Linked DNA regions of Homo sapiens: region 2 is linked to region 1. The links are contacts of gene promoters, found by promoter capture Hi-C in blood cells and fetal thymus (Javierre and others, 2016). All regions are on one chromosome and are shown on one strand. Each heading gives the region's core, a stretch centred on a gene start or on the middle of the fragment in contact. The rest is flanking DNA. Distances are from core to core; before and after follow the strand shown.

The links. Contacts are between HindIII fragments. The CHiCAGO score rates a contact against its expected background, and 5 or more counts as called.
Region 2: a fragment that was not itself captured here is called in contact with the fragment with the promoter of SP1 in region 1 in 1 of 17 cell types (fetal thymus); the score reaches 5.2 in fetal thymus.

What each region holds. Positions count from the first base shown.
Region 1 is chr12:53,376,830-53,383,889 of GRCh38, reverse strand. SP1 (Sp1 transcription factor) reads right to left here and starts at 3,714. Exons shown (of 6, transcript NM_138473.3): 1 at 3,592-3,714; 2 at 2,077-2,231; 3 at 268-1,780. The coding sequence starts at 3,598. RefSeq lists enhancers at 1,520-1,769, 2,182-2,940, 3,791-4,085, 3,918-4,217, 4,121-4,621 and a silencer at 3,048-3,677. The HindIII fragment of the contact is 463 bases long and covers 3,572-4,034 here.
Region 2 is chr12:52,028,967-52,036,026 of GRCh38, reverse strand. It overlaps LOC124902934 (a long non-coding RNA gene), which reads right to left. Exons shown (of 2, transcript XR_007063311.1): 2 at 2,554-3,259. It also overlaps a transcript of NR4A1 not described here. Among named protein-coding and RNA genes, the nearest start is that of NR4A1, 19 kb to the left of the region's middle. RefSeq lists a silencer at 2,701-3,030. The HindIII fragment of the contact is 1,305 bases long and covers 3,043-4,347 here.

The DNA of each region.
Region 1 (7,060 bases), core at 2,465-4,964:
ATTATTCTGCAGCACCAAAAACACTGAGTATTACAGACTCCAGAATATTGCCCAGAAGTGCTCCTTCCTCAAACTAACTGGAGAAGTTTCCTTTACTTCAGTTCCAAATTACTTAAACAGAATCTCTATTTCTCAAATTTATTTGCCTAAATGACTAACCCTCAAGAAAGTGTTATCTCAAAAGGCTCTATTCCTTTCTTTAGACTCAAGTTTCAGCTACGATGCTAGAGTTGGTTCCCAATAAATGCACAAGATTGGAAATCTTACCTGGGGCATTTGCTATAGCCAACGGCAGGCCTTGAATTGGGTGCACCTGGATTCCTGAAGTACCCAATGCACTGAGGTTAATGGTCTGGAGGCCTGGCATGGAGGAGAGTTGAGCAGCATTCACAGTGACTGTGCCAGCAGGAATGGAAGCAGCTGAGGCAATGGGTGTGAGAGTGGTGTTGCTGCTGCTGGTCTGCCCCAAGGAAACACCCTGCATTGGGGCTAAGGTGATTGTTTGGGCTTGTGGGTTCTGAACTTGGAGGTTCTGCAGCTGTAGAGTCTGCCAACTGACCTGTCCATTGGGCCCCACTGTTGGTGTCCGGATGATGATGGGACCAGAGTTTGGAACAGCCTGAAGCTGGAGGTTCTGGAGGGTTTCCTGGGAGATGGCTTGAGTTGTAAAGGTCTGCCCTGACAATGGTGCTGCTTGGAGGGCCTGGAGGGCCTGTCCCCCTTGAACTAGCTGAGGCTGGATAAGAATTTGTTGCTGCTGTGTCTGCTGGTTTTGCTCTCCTTCTTTTTGCTGGCCTGCTTGCAATGAGCCTCCAGATGTCTGGTTTTGCTGGATGTTCAGAGCATCAGACCCCTGTAGCCCACTGACCCTCTGGGGTGTCTGGCCTTGAGAGTTGGTCCCTGATGATCCACTGGTAGTAAAGTTCATAATTCCCATGTTGCTGGTGGTAGTAGTAGTTGAGTAGCTATTGGCATTGGTGAAAAAGGAGCTGGAACTGGCTTGTGATGATACCAAGCTGGCAGAACTGATGGTAGTCCCTGAGGTGACAGGCTGTGAGCCACTCTCCTGGGACCCAGAGCTGCTGATCGTGACTGCCTGAGAGCTGGGAGTCAAGGTAGCTGCAGAAACGCTGTTGACAGGTAGCAAGGTGATGTTCCCATTCAGGGCCACTGGTACATTGGTCACATACTGAGTCTGTCCTGAGAGTACATTATTAGCCAGGCCTTGGAGGGGGACAGCCTGCTGGAGTAGGTTTGGCATAGCAGCAATGATGTTGCCTCCACTTCCTCGATTTGTGATAATCTGTTGGTTTGCACCTGGTATGATCTGTATTTGACCAGAACCATCCTGCTGCACTTGGGCCCCAGTGGCAGCAAACTGCAGCTGTTGCCCATCAACGGTCTGGAACTGTGGGATTACTTGATACTGAATATTAGGCATCACTCCAGGTAGTCCTGTCAGAACTTGCTGGTTCTGTAAGTTGGGAGCGGCAGCCACAACATACTGCCCACCAGAGACTGTGCGATTCTTGGAAGACTCACTGCCATTGCTGCCATTGGTACTGCTGCCACTCTGTTCCTTTGAGGTAGGGGTAGCCCCAGAGGAGGAAGAGATGATCTGCCAGCCATTGGCACCCTGTGAAAGTTGTGTGGCTGTGAGGTCAAGCTCACCTGTTCCCCCTGACTGACTCGGGCCCTGGGAGTTGTTGCTGTTCTCATTGGGTGACTCAATTCTGCTGCAAGTTGCTGCCAGCAGAGCCAAAGGGGATGGCTGGGACTCCTGGCCGAAAATAAGGGAGAGGAAAGGAGTTAGTGACACCCAGCTGCCAGCCTAGGGGGCAGTATACAACAAATAAACAGCAACGTAGTGCAGACAAGGAGCAAAAAACAGAAACAAAAAGCTGACCTATCTGTATTGCTGAAACTCCTTTGTCTTTGGGGATCTCCATTCTCTTACTTCCTTATCTATAAAATGGTTTAGTCTCTCCCTAAAACGCTTTCTGTGAAGAGTAAGGCAATTATCTAAGAATATTTACATCTTCTCAACACCTTCCCCACTCTATGATTATCACTTACCTGCCCTCCTCCTCCAGTGCTGCTGCTACTGCCTGTGCTGCTACTTCGAGCCTGTGAAAAGGCACCACCACCATTACCATTGCCCCCATTATTGCCACCAACTCCTTTTTCAATTTTCACCACAGCTGTCATTTCATCCATGGAGTGATCTTGGTCTAAAATAATTAAAAAACAAACAACGTAAACTTGAGGGAAGAAAAGAAATGAAGTAGGAAGGATAAAAGGAGGCTATGATGAAATAGCAATGACTAACAGGAAGGCGAAAGCCACCAGTATAAAGAAAATGGATTGGAGGGCAGAGGGGAGCTGCAGGGCATGCAGGACATGAACTAGGTTCAATGTGCCAAAAGTGGGCCTTAATTCTCCCTTGTACAAAATTAAACTAAGAAAACATTCAAAAAGTGCTTTGGGGATAGGAAATGTGAAGGACGGTAGGCATGGTGAGAGTTTCTAAATAAGAAAAAGTATCCTAAGGGAAAAAAAGGAAAAGGACAGGTAAGGCATAAAACAACATGTGGGTGCATGGAAAGCTTGCTAAAATTAAGTTTAAAAGAGATGGAGAGGCCAGGCGCGGTGGTCACGCCTGTAATCCCATTACTTTGGGAGGCGGAGGCAGGCAGATCACCTGGGGTCGGGAGTTTTGAGACCAGCCTGACCAACATGGAGAAACCCTGTCTCTACTAAAAATACAAAATTAGCCGGGTGTGGTGGCGCATGCCTGTAATTCCAGCTACTCCCGGAGGCTGAGGCAGGAGAATCGCCTGAATCCGGGAGGCAGAGGTTGCAGTGAGCCGAGATCGCACCATTGCATTCCAGTCTGGGTAACAAGAGCGAAAACTCCGTCTCAAAAAAAAAAAAAAAAAAAAAGACAAACAAAAATCCAAGTGTGAAAAGTAACGAGAGGGGAAAAAGAAGTAAAAAGTGTGAGTAGAAAAACATTTGTGAATACTGCTAAGGAACTAAAGGGATCTACAGGTTAGTAGTCAGAAGGTTTCGGGGCGGAGGGCGGGCCCTGAGGGAAAGGGCGGTTTCGGGGTGAGGGGCGTGGAAAGGGCGGGACGGTGGGGGGCGGGGGGGAAGGGAAATCTACGGAAAGTGGGGGGAGGAGGGCCTTGGAGCAGGCGGCGACCAGAGGGCGGACCAGGCAGGCGGTTGGCCCGGGCGGGGCCTTCGCTGCTCGGGCCGCCCCCGCGGCTCCAGCCCCCGGCGGGAGGAGCCTCAGGCGGGCGGCCGAGTAGTGGGGGGTAAGGCCCGTCCCCCGTGGCCGGGGCGGGCAGGGGGCGGGCGAGGCCACGCTGCCCCCTCCCCCGGGGCGGGCGGCCCATCCCCCTCCTCCTCGGAGGCCCCGCCACTGCCCCGTCTCCCTCCCTTCCCTCCGCCCCGGGCGGGACCTAGGCCGCCGCCGCCGCCGCCTCCCGCCCGCCCCCGCTTCACGGCGGGGATCGCCCGGTCGGCCCTCGCGCGCGCCCCCTCACTCGCCTCCCACCCCTAAGCTTGGAGTGGACTCATCCTTACCGCTCATGGTGGCAGCTGAGGGACAAGCTCAAGGGGGTCCTGTCCGGGGGGGTTGGGGGGGGCCGGGAAAAACGCGGACGCTGACGAGGCAAGCGAACCCGGACCGGACAGGGAGGGGGGGGTAAGGAGGAGGGAGCAGCGCGCCACAAGCCCAACCTAGGCCCCGCCCCTTCTCTGCTGCCCCGCCCAATGAGGGAGGGGGAAAGGAGGGACTTGCAGAAGAAAGACGGTGGAATTATCCAATGGCAAGACTCGCTTGCTCTCCAAGGCGTGTGAGACTAAGTTGCGTGCCTGGTGTCCGCCTAAAAAGACCGCCCTCTCAGTGTTAAAAGCCAATGAAGGATGCAGGAAGTGAAGATGGGCGGGAGCTGGAGATGATTGGCTTGGAAGGAAACCAGTCAACCGGCAGGCGGGCTCCCTGAGACGTAGGGATAGGCAAAGCTTTGATAGGAATGACAGAACAACGGCCAACCAGAATCCGGGATATGCTTGGGCAAAATCCTAGTGGGCGGAGAGGTAAGAAGTAGGCAGGAATAGGAGAGGATGAAGCTGATTAAAACCAATCAGAAATCAGGCGGGCAGCCAGGAACGTTATGATTGGAGTTAGACTGAAAAGAGACAGGAAAGGACGCATATTGACGTGAACTAAAAGCCAATTAAACGCCGAATTAACTGAGGGCGGAAACTTGGAGTGGCAGAGGAGAATTGGCGGCTCCCTCAGTTATTCAATCCAATGAGGGGACGAAGTAGGCCTGGCACCGCCTCCTAGTTAGCCAATGGGCGTTACTGGAGCTGCCCATCATGAGGGAGGGAAGAGGGCTATGCCAAGAGGAGACCGTCGCCATATTGGCCCTCCTCAGGGGACGTTGTTACAGTCATTAGGTGGGACGCTTTAGCGGAGTCCTGCAGCTCAACAGGTGTCAGAGCCAAGGCATTCGGCGCGCAGTTCCGCATCAACACTAGGACTTGTTTGCGTCTTCATTTAACTGCCCCTATAAAGTACCTCTCAAATCTTACCCCCCTCCCGGGTGGTCGGACAGGCGGGCAGATGCCTCAATGTCGCTGCAAGCCCTGGGAATGCAGGCGGGACGAGATCTGGTGACAGCACTCACCGAATAAGTTAATACTGAGCTGACCAATATGCAGAGTCTCCGTGAGACTCCAGAAAACGCGATTTTATTAAGTTCCCCCAGACAAAGGCGCTAACCACTTAAACGACTGGTTAACTTTTCAAGCCTTGAGGCTAAAGTGCGGATAAGTCACTTCCATTTTTTCCCCCTTAATAGTAAATACCGCCTATGCATAAAGCAAGATAGCTGAGCTCCAGCTTTTTGCAATCACGAAGGTTAAGAAACTTTACTGCAGGCACCTGGATTTCTGGCCTCCTCTTTATCCGTGTTTTGGTGGAGCCGGCCTTAATAGCTTGTCAATGACACGATGAGGTCATGTCCTTCAGTATTTGTATCTTATATGTTGTCACCTGCTTATATGTTCTTATGTTTTAAAATGTGAATTCTCCTAAACTATTTTAAGCCCTTTGAAGGTAAGAACTGAGGCCTCTGCTGCTTTAAACAGGTAAAAAGGTGAAGTGATTGCTGACTGCCTACCGTGTTAGGTGCCTAAGTCAGGGAGGCAGTTAGTATTCCATGTCATCCTTAAAAGGAAGATTTTATTAAGTATCAGCTATATTATGTATTTTATAAGTGAAGACATTTAGGCTGAGAAGTGACTTACCCAAGGTCACAAAGCAAATGAGTTGTAGTGTTAGATTCCAACCCAGAATAGTTCCACCAAAAGTTTTCTATAAATTCTTGAGGGAATTAAACTGCCGCCGGGCGCAATGGCTCAGACCTGTAATCCCAGCACTATGGGAGGCCGAGGCGGGCGGATCGCTTGAGCCCAGGAGTTAAAGACCAGCCTGGGCAACATGGTGAAACCCCGTCTCCACAAAAAATAACAAAAATTAGCCAGACGTGGTGATGTGCGCCAGTAGTCCCAGCTACTCGGGAGGCTGGGGTGGAAGAATCGCTTGAACCCAGGAGGTTGAGGCTGCAGTGAGCTCAAATCCTGCCACTGCACTCCAGCCAGGACAACAAAGCAAGACCTTGCTCCAAAATAAGTAAATATATAGACTGGGCGCGGTGGCTCATGCCTGTAATCCCAGCATTTTGGGAGGCCGAGGCAGGCGGATCACCTGAGGTCAGGAGTTCAAGACCAGCTTGACCAACATGGAGAAACCCCGTCTCTACTAAAAATATAAAACTAGCCAGGCATGGTGGGACATGTCTGTAATCCCAGCCACTTGGGAGGCTGAGGCAGGAGAATCGCTTGAATCCAGGAGGCAGAAGTTGTAGTGAGCCAAGATCGTGCCATTGCACTCGGGCCTGGGCAACGACAGTGAAACTCCATCTCAAAGAAAAAAAAAAAAGTAAATATATAGATGCTTTTTAATTTTTACTGTCTAGCTCCTGAAAAAAAAAAAAAAAAGCCTACTCCCAGGACGGATCAAATGGCATCATCCTCTTAGATACCTTTATTATAAAATTTATCAGAATACATGACAATTAATTTCATCTCTCACTGTATCAAGGTTTCTCAAAATGAAATGTCACACACTCTCAGAATCCTCTGGGTTCTTTTTTCAAAAAAGGCAGATTCCTAGATTTCCACCCTAAACCTATTTTTAAGTAGCTCTTTCAAGTGATTAGGCCCTAAACCTAGTTTAAAACACACCAAGAAGGCTGGGCGCAGTGGCTCATGCCTGTAATCCCAGCATTTTGGCAGGCAGAGGCGGGCAGATCACTGGAGGTCAGGAGTTCGAGACCAGCCTGACCAACATGGTGAAACCCCATCTCTACTAAAAATACAAAAATTAGTCGGGCGTGGTGGTGCATGCCTATAGTCCCAGCTACTCGGAAGGCTGAAGCAGGAAAATCGCTTGAACCTAGAGGCGGAGGTTGCAGTGACCGGGGATCATGCCACTGCACTCCAGCCTGGGCGACAGAGCAAGATTTGGTCTCAAAGAAAAGAAAAGAAAACAAAACAAAACAAAAACACCAAGAGAAGAAACTGGGGAAAAGAAACTTCCAGAAAGGGAGAAATTTCCTGGAAGGAAGAAACTGCATTACTCATCTTTGTAAACCAAGCTCTGAAGATTCTAATAGCTGTTTAGTCCATTCAGCAACTGTCCATACCTAAACTTGCTTAGGGGTGGAGGTAGGGAGAGGAAACTTAACACCGTGGAGGAGTATTCTAAACATTTCACATATTTATCTAATTTAATTATTCCTACCAATTTAAGAGATAGTTGTCCCCTTTTACAGATGAGAAAACTGAGGCTCAGATATTTTAGTTAAATTATGACTGTTCTGTTTAGTTCCAAAGCCTGTGTTTTTTCCATAGTCCTAGACTACACCCGAATTGGGAATTAGGATAAAATTAAACTGACAAAAAGACCTAAATTCAGAAA
Region 2 (7,060 bases), core at 2,446-4,945, 1.3 Mb after region 1:
AGGATCCAGTCATGTGCTCTGCTGTGCCAGCCACTAGCCCCTGATCCTTTTTGGAGCCACCTTAAATTATGAGCATGCTATACAATCTCCAGCACCCAGCCCAGGCCCCACGCAGCAAAGAATCTCTTCTGTGCTCAAAATTCTCCAAAAGAGGCCCCACACCTCCACTCAGCCCTCATTCCAGGGGCTGCATTCCTCTCTCCACCCCACTGCCCACCCCCAGAAATCCTTTGCTGGACAAATCCTAAACTCTTGGCGCAACTCAGAATTCCCTTTCTCTCATTCTTCATAATGATTCCAAGAACCTCTGCAGAGTTTGTCTCTCAAAATCACATCCCAAGAACCTGTACATTTCTCTCCCAGGTTCAAGTATTAGGTCAATTTGCAGATAAAGAAACTGAGGCTTCAAAAATGACAAGGCGTTGGGGTGGGGGAAAGGGACTGACTTTTCCTCACTCACCCTGTGCCCTCCTGTTTCCTACCCCAGCAGCTTCTTTCACATGGGCTTCTTAGAGGAGCAGCTACCCCACCCCCTCTTTTCCTTTCTTTTTCCAGAAGTCTAACTTTTGAAATACATTTTAAAATATTTGCCTGTGTGGGAGAAATACATTTATTTAGACAGGAAGGGAAAAAAAGGGCTCAGTTACCAGTTTTTCCATGAAGGCTTCCAGCCCACAGAGGTCTCTCCTTTCCATAAATACTTTTAGCATAACTTGTCTTTATTATATATTCTCCTATTTATAATCAAATAAAACATATTCTAAAATGTGGAATGCCAGAACACGCACGCTTTGGGTGGCATGTGGAGGCGGCGTGAGATGGTGGAAGAAGCAGTCTCTAGAGGTCTGGGATGGACACTGGTTGTCGGAGGACTGAACAGATGTGGAGGTACCTTGTACACAGCAGGCACTCAGAGTTAGTTCTCCTCCCTGCTCTGCCCTAGGAGTCTCATTTCCCTAACCCACAAGAGGCTCTACCTCTTACCAGCTGCATGACTCCAGGGAAGTTACTTGCCCTCTCTGGGCTTCAGTTTCCTCACCTCAAACACAAAGATGATAAGAAACCTATCTCACAGGGTTGCCATGAGAGTGCCTCTTTGAGAGCAGACATAAAGCATGAAGCGGAGTCTGGCACATCATGGCAGATCTGCCATTTCCATACAGGAGGACTTGGAGGACTTGGGACCTTGTCTTGAAGCTGTACATCCAAGGTGCTTACCCTAGCTTTGCCCAGCCAGTATGTTTATTGGGAATACTGGGGGCCGTGGGGGCTGCACAGATAGGAGCAATGTCGCTTCTTAGTCATTACAAATGTCCAGTAAACGTCTGCCCTGTTGTTGTCTCCCTGATCCAGGTCACTCAGCTAGTGAGTTGCCCAGCCAGAACCATAGCCCTGGTCTTCTGTCTCCATAGCCCTGGTCTTCTGACTCCCAGGCCAGTGCTCTTTCTACCCAGCCTCTTGTTCCTTCATATCTAATTCCTCTCCTTTCTACAGGCACTGCTTCACAGCCCCTATTGCAGATAGGAAAGGTGAGGAGAGAAAAGGTGAACAACGTGCATGGCCCAGGGAGTCGGAGCAGAGGGGAGACAGGCCACCATGGCCAGTGACGCCCCACATTGTGGGAGGTTCCTAGAGGACAAGCTCCTACACAGAAAGCTGGCTCCTAGTCTGATGGGGAGGCAGGACACAAGAATAGGTATGGAAACATTGCCAGGACATCCAAGAAGTGGCCTCCAAGAAGCCTTGAGCTGGCATTGGGGTAGAATCTAGAGGACTAGTCTCAAGAGGCCTCCCTGGAGGAAGAGAATGTAGGGCCCAGTGTGAAAGAAGAGACAGGACCAGGCAGGGTATAGAGAAAAGGCACTCCATGGAGGAGAGAGGCTGCCCCCAAACCTTAGGTATGCGGCAGGGCAGGGCTGAGATCCTGAGGGTGGGAAGTAGTGGGCCAAGGTAAGCCACAGGACCCAGGACCATAAGCCAGACTCTCAGTGGCCCTCCCCAGGTGCCCTTCCATCTCACAGCATCTGAAACTCCACCCCACCTAGGAGACACCCTTCCACTCCACCTCCATCCTGGCCCTCGGGGGCGGGGGTAAAAGGATGTCAAGGGGGTTCCCTAGGGCATTTGGGCAGAGAAGGGGCTCCCCTGCTCAGGCCCTGGCCCTGAATAAGGAGAGGGGCTGTGGAAGGGATTCCCTTCATGGTTTCCTTCCTCTTCTTGAGGATCAAGAACTACCTGGCCGGGGTCCCCCGACCTCTCCCCAGGCTTAAGAGCAATTTAAGGGCCGAAAAAATAGAGACACAAAGACGGGTCTTCCTGGGGCTGTCTCAGGGCTCAGGGGCTGTCCAGAGACACCGCCCAGATGGGGTTACACTCTCCAGATTGCATAAGGATGAGGAGACCCCACTTGGTGTTTTCGAAGCACTTCCACGTTTGCTCTACTTAGTTGCCATGGAAGGCGTCAGGGCCCCAAGAGAAAGTGGCCAAGGTCTCCAGACCGGAAATGGCAGAGCTGGAATTAATGCGAGATTTCCCCTAAATCCAGGCCAGGGCTCTTAAAAATCCTCTGCAATTTTATTTGTTAAATTACAAAATCAAACATGCTCGTGGTAAACAAATGTGAGCGTTTCAGGCCTGCGTGATTTACGAAGTGAGAGGCCCGTAATCGCACTCCCAGAGGAGCGAGGATTTGGTCATCCTCCGACGACGGCTTCCAGATTTTTCTCCGCGTCGCCAGAGATGGGATCTGGCCCGGCGGGTCCTCCCTGAGGGGCCCGCGACCGGAACGCCGGGCCGGAAGGAACAGGGCCGAGCCCCAGCTGCGCTCCCGGGGGCGGCCGGGCTGGGCGGGGTGGGGCCGGGGAAGCCGCTACGTCACTAGCCAGTCCGGAGGGAGCCGCAGCAGGTCCAGCCAGGATTCCATTACCTCACCCGGCGGCGCAGAGCTGCGGCTCGGTCAACACCCCTGCACACCATTGGCTACGGTGCCGCCCCTCCGACCAATAGCACGGGCGCATGCAAATGAACCATTGAGCCGAAGCTTCCTTCGGGTCTGCTGCAGGCGAATAGACGTCATTGGGAGGATGGGGGAAATGAGTTAAGAGGGGTCCCGAAATCTGTAGAGTGCTGGTTTGGGGGCTCGCCATCCCAAATCTGTTCCAGCCTGTCCTGAGGAAAATGGAGTGTAATTAAGGGTGAGCACCCTTAATTCTTGAGCTGTCTTTCCAGATACACCTCGCTGCTTGGAGATTCAGTGAACCTAAGAAAAGGTGCAAAAACTATTTAGGTCAACTTGGAGAGCAGGGGAAGGAAGAAATAAGAAATAAAGAGGTACCGAAAGCTGGAACATACTTCGGAGAAACACCTAGGCCAGCCCTCTCACTGGAAACACAGCACAGCACAGAACAAAACAGACACAGCTCCTGTCCCCGGGCTGACAGCCAAGTAGGAGAGATGAATGTTCAACAATCTTGCACATAAGCAGTAAGTGCCATGGTGTTAGCCAGCGTTCTCCAGAGAAACAGAACCAATAGGATGGATATACAGAGATATAGAAAAAGATTTATTATGAGGCATTAGCTCCCATGATTATGGACGCTGAGAAGTACCCAGGATCTGCCCTCCGCAAGCTGGAGTAGTTCCAGTCCGCGTCTGAAGGTGCAAGAATCAGAGCATGGATGTCTGAAGCAGGGAAAATATGGTGTCCCACCTCAAAGAAGAGCAAATTTGCCCTTCCTCTGCCTTTTTATTCTATTCAGGTCCTTAACAGATTAAATTATGCCTGCCCATAGCGGTGAGGGCGGTCTTCTTTACTCAGTCTACTGATTCAAATACTAATCTCTTCCAGAAACAGCCTCACAAATACACCTAGAAATAACATTTTACCAGCTATTTGAGCATCCCTTAGCCCAGTCAAGTTGACACTTAAAATTAACCATCACGGTGGCTCAAGCCTGTAATCCCAGCACTTTGGGAGGCCGAGGCGGGCGGATCACTTGAGGCCGGGAGTTCCAGACCTGCCTGACCAACATGGTGAAACCCCGTCTCTACTAAAAATACAAAATTAGCTGGGCGTGGTGGCGGGCACCTGTAATCCCAGCTACTCCGGAGGCTGAGGTAGGAGAATTGCTTGAACCCAGGAGACGGAAATTGCAGTGAGCCGAAGGTTGCAGTGAGCTGAGATTGCGTCACTGCGCTCCAGCCTGGGCAACAGAGCGAGACTCCGTCTCAAAAAAAAAAAAAAAAAAATTAACCATCACAACCATAAAGAGAAAATGAAATGGAGGATGTCAGTGAGATATTTAACAGGCAGCTGTAATTTTCGCAAGGGATGGATAAGAGAAAGCTTCTCCAAGGAAGTAGCTTTTTTATTTGTTTGTTTGTTTGTTTTGAGACGGAGTCTCACTCTGTCACCCAGGCTGGAGTGCAGTAGCATGATCTCGGCTCACTGCAACCTCTGCCTCCCAGGTTCAAGCCATTCTCCTACCTCAGCCTCATGAGTAGCTGGGATTACAGGCGCATGCCACCAAACCTGGCTAATTTTTGTATTTTTAGTAGAGATGGGGTTTCACCATGTGGGCCAGGCTGGTCTCACACTCCTGACCTCATGTGATCTGCCCGCCTCGGCCTCCCAAAGTGTTGAGATTACAGGCGTGAGCCACTGTGCCTGGCGGGAAGTAGCTTTTAAACTGAGGGAAGGCTGGGCACCACTGGAGGCTCATGCCTGTAATCTCAGCACTTTGGGAGGCCGAGATGGGAGGATCATTTGAGCTCAGGAGTTTGAGACCAGCCTGGGCAACGTAAGGGAGACTTTGTTTCTACTAAAAGTAATAATAATAATTAAAAAATAGCCTGCTTGGTGTTACGGGACTATGGTCCCAGCTACTTCAGGGCGGAGGTGAGAGAATCACTTGAGCCCAGGAGTCTGAGGCTGTAGCGAGCTGTGACAGCACCACTGCACTCCAGCCTGGGCGACAGAGTGAGACCCTATCTCAAAATAAATAAACTGAGGGGAGTTTGTCGGTGGAGAGTTAGGGGAAAGGGATAAGTTGCAGGGAGAGGAAACAGTAATGAAAGAGTGCCAGCTTGTTAGAGCAGCAGAGTAAGGCAAGTGGCTGGAGGCCAGTGACTAAGGGGGACAGAGCTGGGGATGCGCGAGAGGAGCACTCAGCCCAATCCACAGGCCCTTGTGCCAGACTCTGTGCCGATGACTTTTTTCCTTTGTCTCTTCTTTCAGCAGCCATCTAAGGTGGGCACTATTTTAGTATTGAGGAAACTGAGGCTCTAAAAGGTTAAGTAGGCCAGGTGTGGTGGCTCGCGCCTGTAATCCCAGCACTTTGGGAGGCCAAGGCAGGCGGATCACATGAGGTCAGGAGTTCGAGACCAGACTGGCCAACATAATGAAACCCCGTCTCTACTAAAAATACAAAAATTAGCCCAGCATGGTGGCCTATGCCTGTAATCCCAGCTACTCAGGAGGCTGAGGCAGGAGAACCACTTGAACCTGAGAGGTGGAGGTTGCAGTTAGCGAAGATTGCACCACTACACTCCAACCTGGGCAGCAGAGCAAGACTCCGTCTCAAAAAATAATACAAAATAAAAAATAAATAAAAGGTTAAGTAAACATGTCCAGTGTCACACAGCTGAGAAGTAGCAGAGCATGGATTTGCATCCAGACCAGTGTGGCCTCAAAGTCCTTACACTGAGCTGCTATGTTATTGCTTCCCAGAGAAGTTGAGCTACCCAGAGGTGAAGGGATTTGCCCTTCATTTCATGGCTTGCTGCAGAGCTGGGACCCCCGCCTCAGAGAGTTCTGTAGATACTGTGAAGGGAGACAGGGCCTAAGGAAGGGGAGAGGGACAGGGAGGGCGGAGAAAATGCCCCTGCAGCAGCATTCCCTGAAGACCTTGCCTGTGCCCACACCCTGCCCATGTCTTTGTGCCTTTGTGTGCAAGAGTCCTTCTTGCCCAAGCTGGAACTTAGGGTTTGCTGGGGTAGAAAGATGCAGAAGTTTATAAGTGTCCACTTCTAGGGGTGTGCTGCTGGCCAGCAGCCACCGCCCTGAGGGCTGTAGGAGGGCTGGCCACTGGGGCAGCCCAGATTAGCTGGATTTTGTGTGCTGTGCCTGTTGCTAAGTAACGCTGCTCCTGCTCTCACCAGGGGAGCCAGCTCTGGTTACCGGTGACAACCCTCAAGGGAGAGTGCCTGGAGAGACATGAGGCAGGCGGGAGGGAACTGAAGGAAGCCAAGCCCTTCCCCACACAGGTTTATATGGCAGAGGGGTAGGTATTCCTTAGCTCTCTGGTGTTCTGTCTTGTGTGTGTGTGGTTTTTGTTTTTTGAGACAGGGTCTCATTCTGTTGCCCAGGCTTGAATGCAGTGATGCAACCATAGCTCATTGCAGCCTCAGCCTCCCTGGCTCAAGTGATCCTCCCACTTTTGCCTCCCAAGTAGCTGGGACTACAGGTGTATGCCACCATGCCTGGCTAATTTTTGTATGTTTTGTAGAGACGGGGTTTCACTCTGTTGCCCAGGCTGGTCTCAAACTCCTGAGCTCAAGCAATCCACCCACCTCAGCCTCCCAAAATGTTGGATTACAGGTGTGGGCCACCACACCGGCCGTCTCTGGAGTACATTAGGGGCCTGTTTCCCCTGTGCCTTGGCCATGGGCTCAGAACTGCAGGACCCACAGGCACACAAGGAGGGTGCAAAGTCATGGGCAGGGTCTGGGCACAGGCAGGGTCTTCAGGGAATGCTGCTGCAGGCGTTTGGAGGGGAATTCTGCCCCCACATCTGAGCACCAAGGAGAGAGGTGGAGTGTGTGTGCATGTATGCGTCCCTCCTGTCATTGGACAGGCAATCTGTGGTCAGGCAGATGGGGCAACTCACTCACTTTCCACTGCTCTTTTAGAAAATGTCCCACACTTCTCCAGCTGGGGGCTTCCCACCTGTCAGAAGGTCCTGGAATCAGAGTAAACAGGTCCTAGCTCCCTGGGAGTGCCTATTATGCCTATTCCACTAAAGGATTTGGGGAATACTAGAGAGATAATTTCACTTAAAGC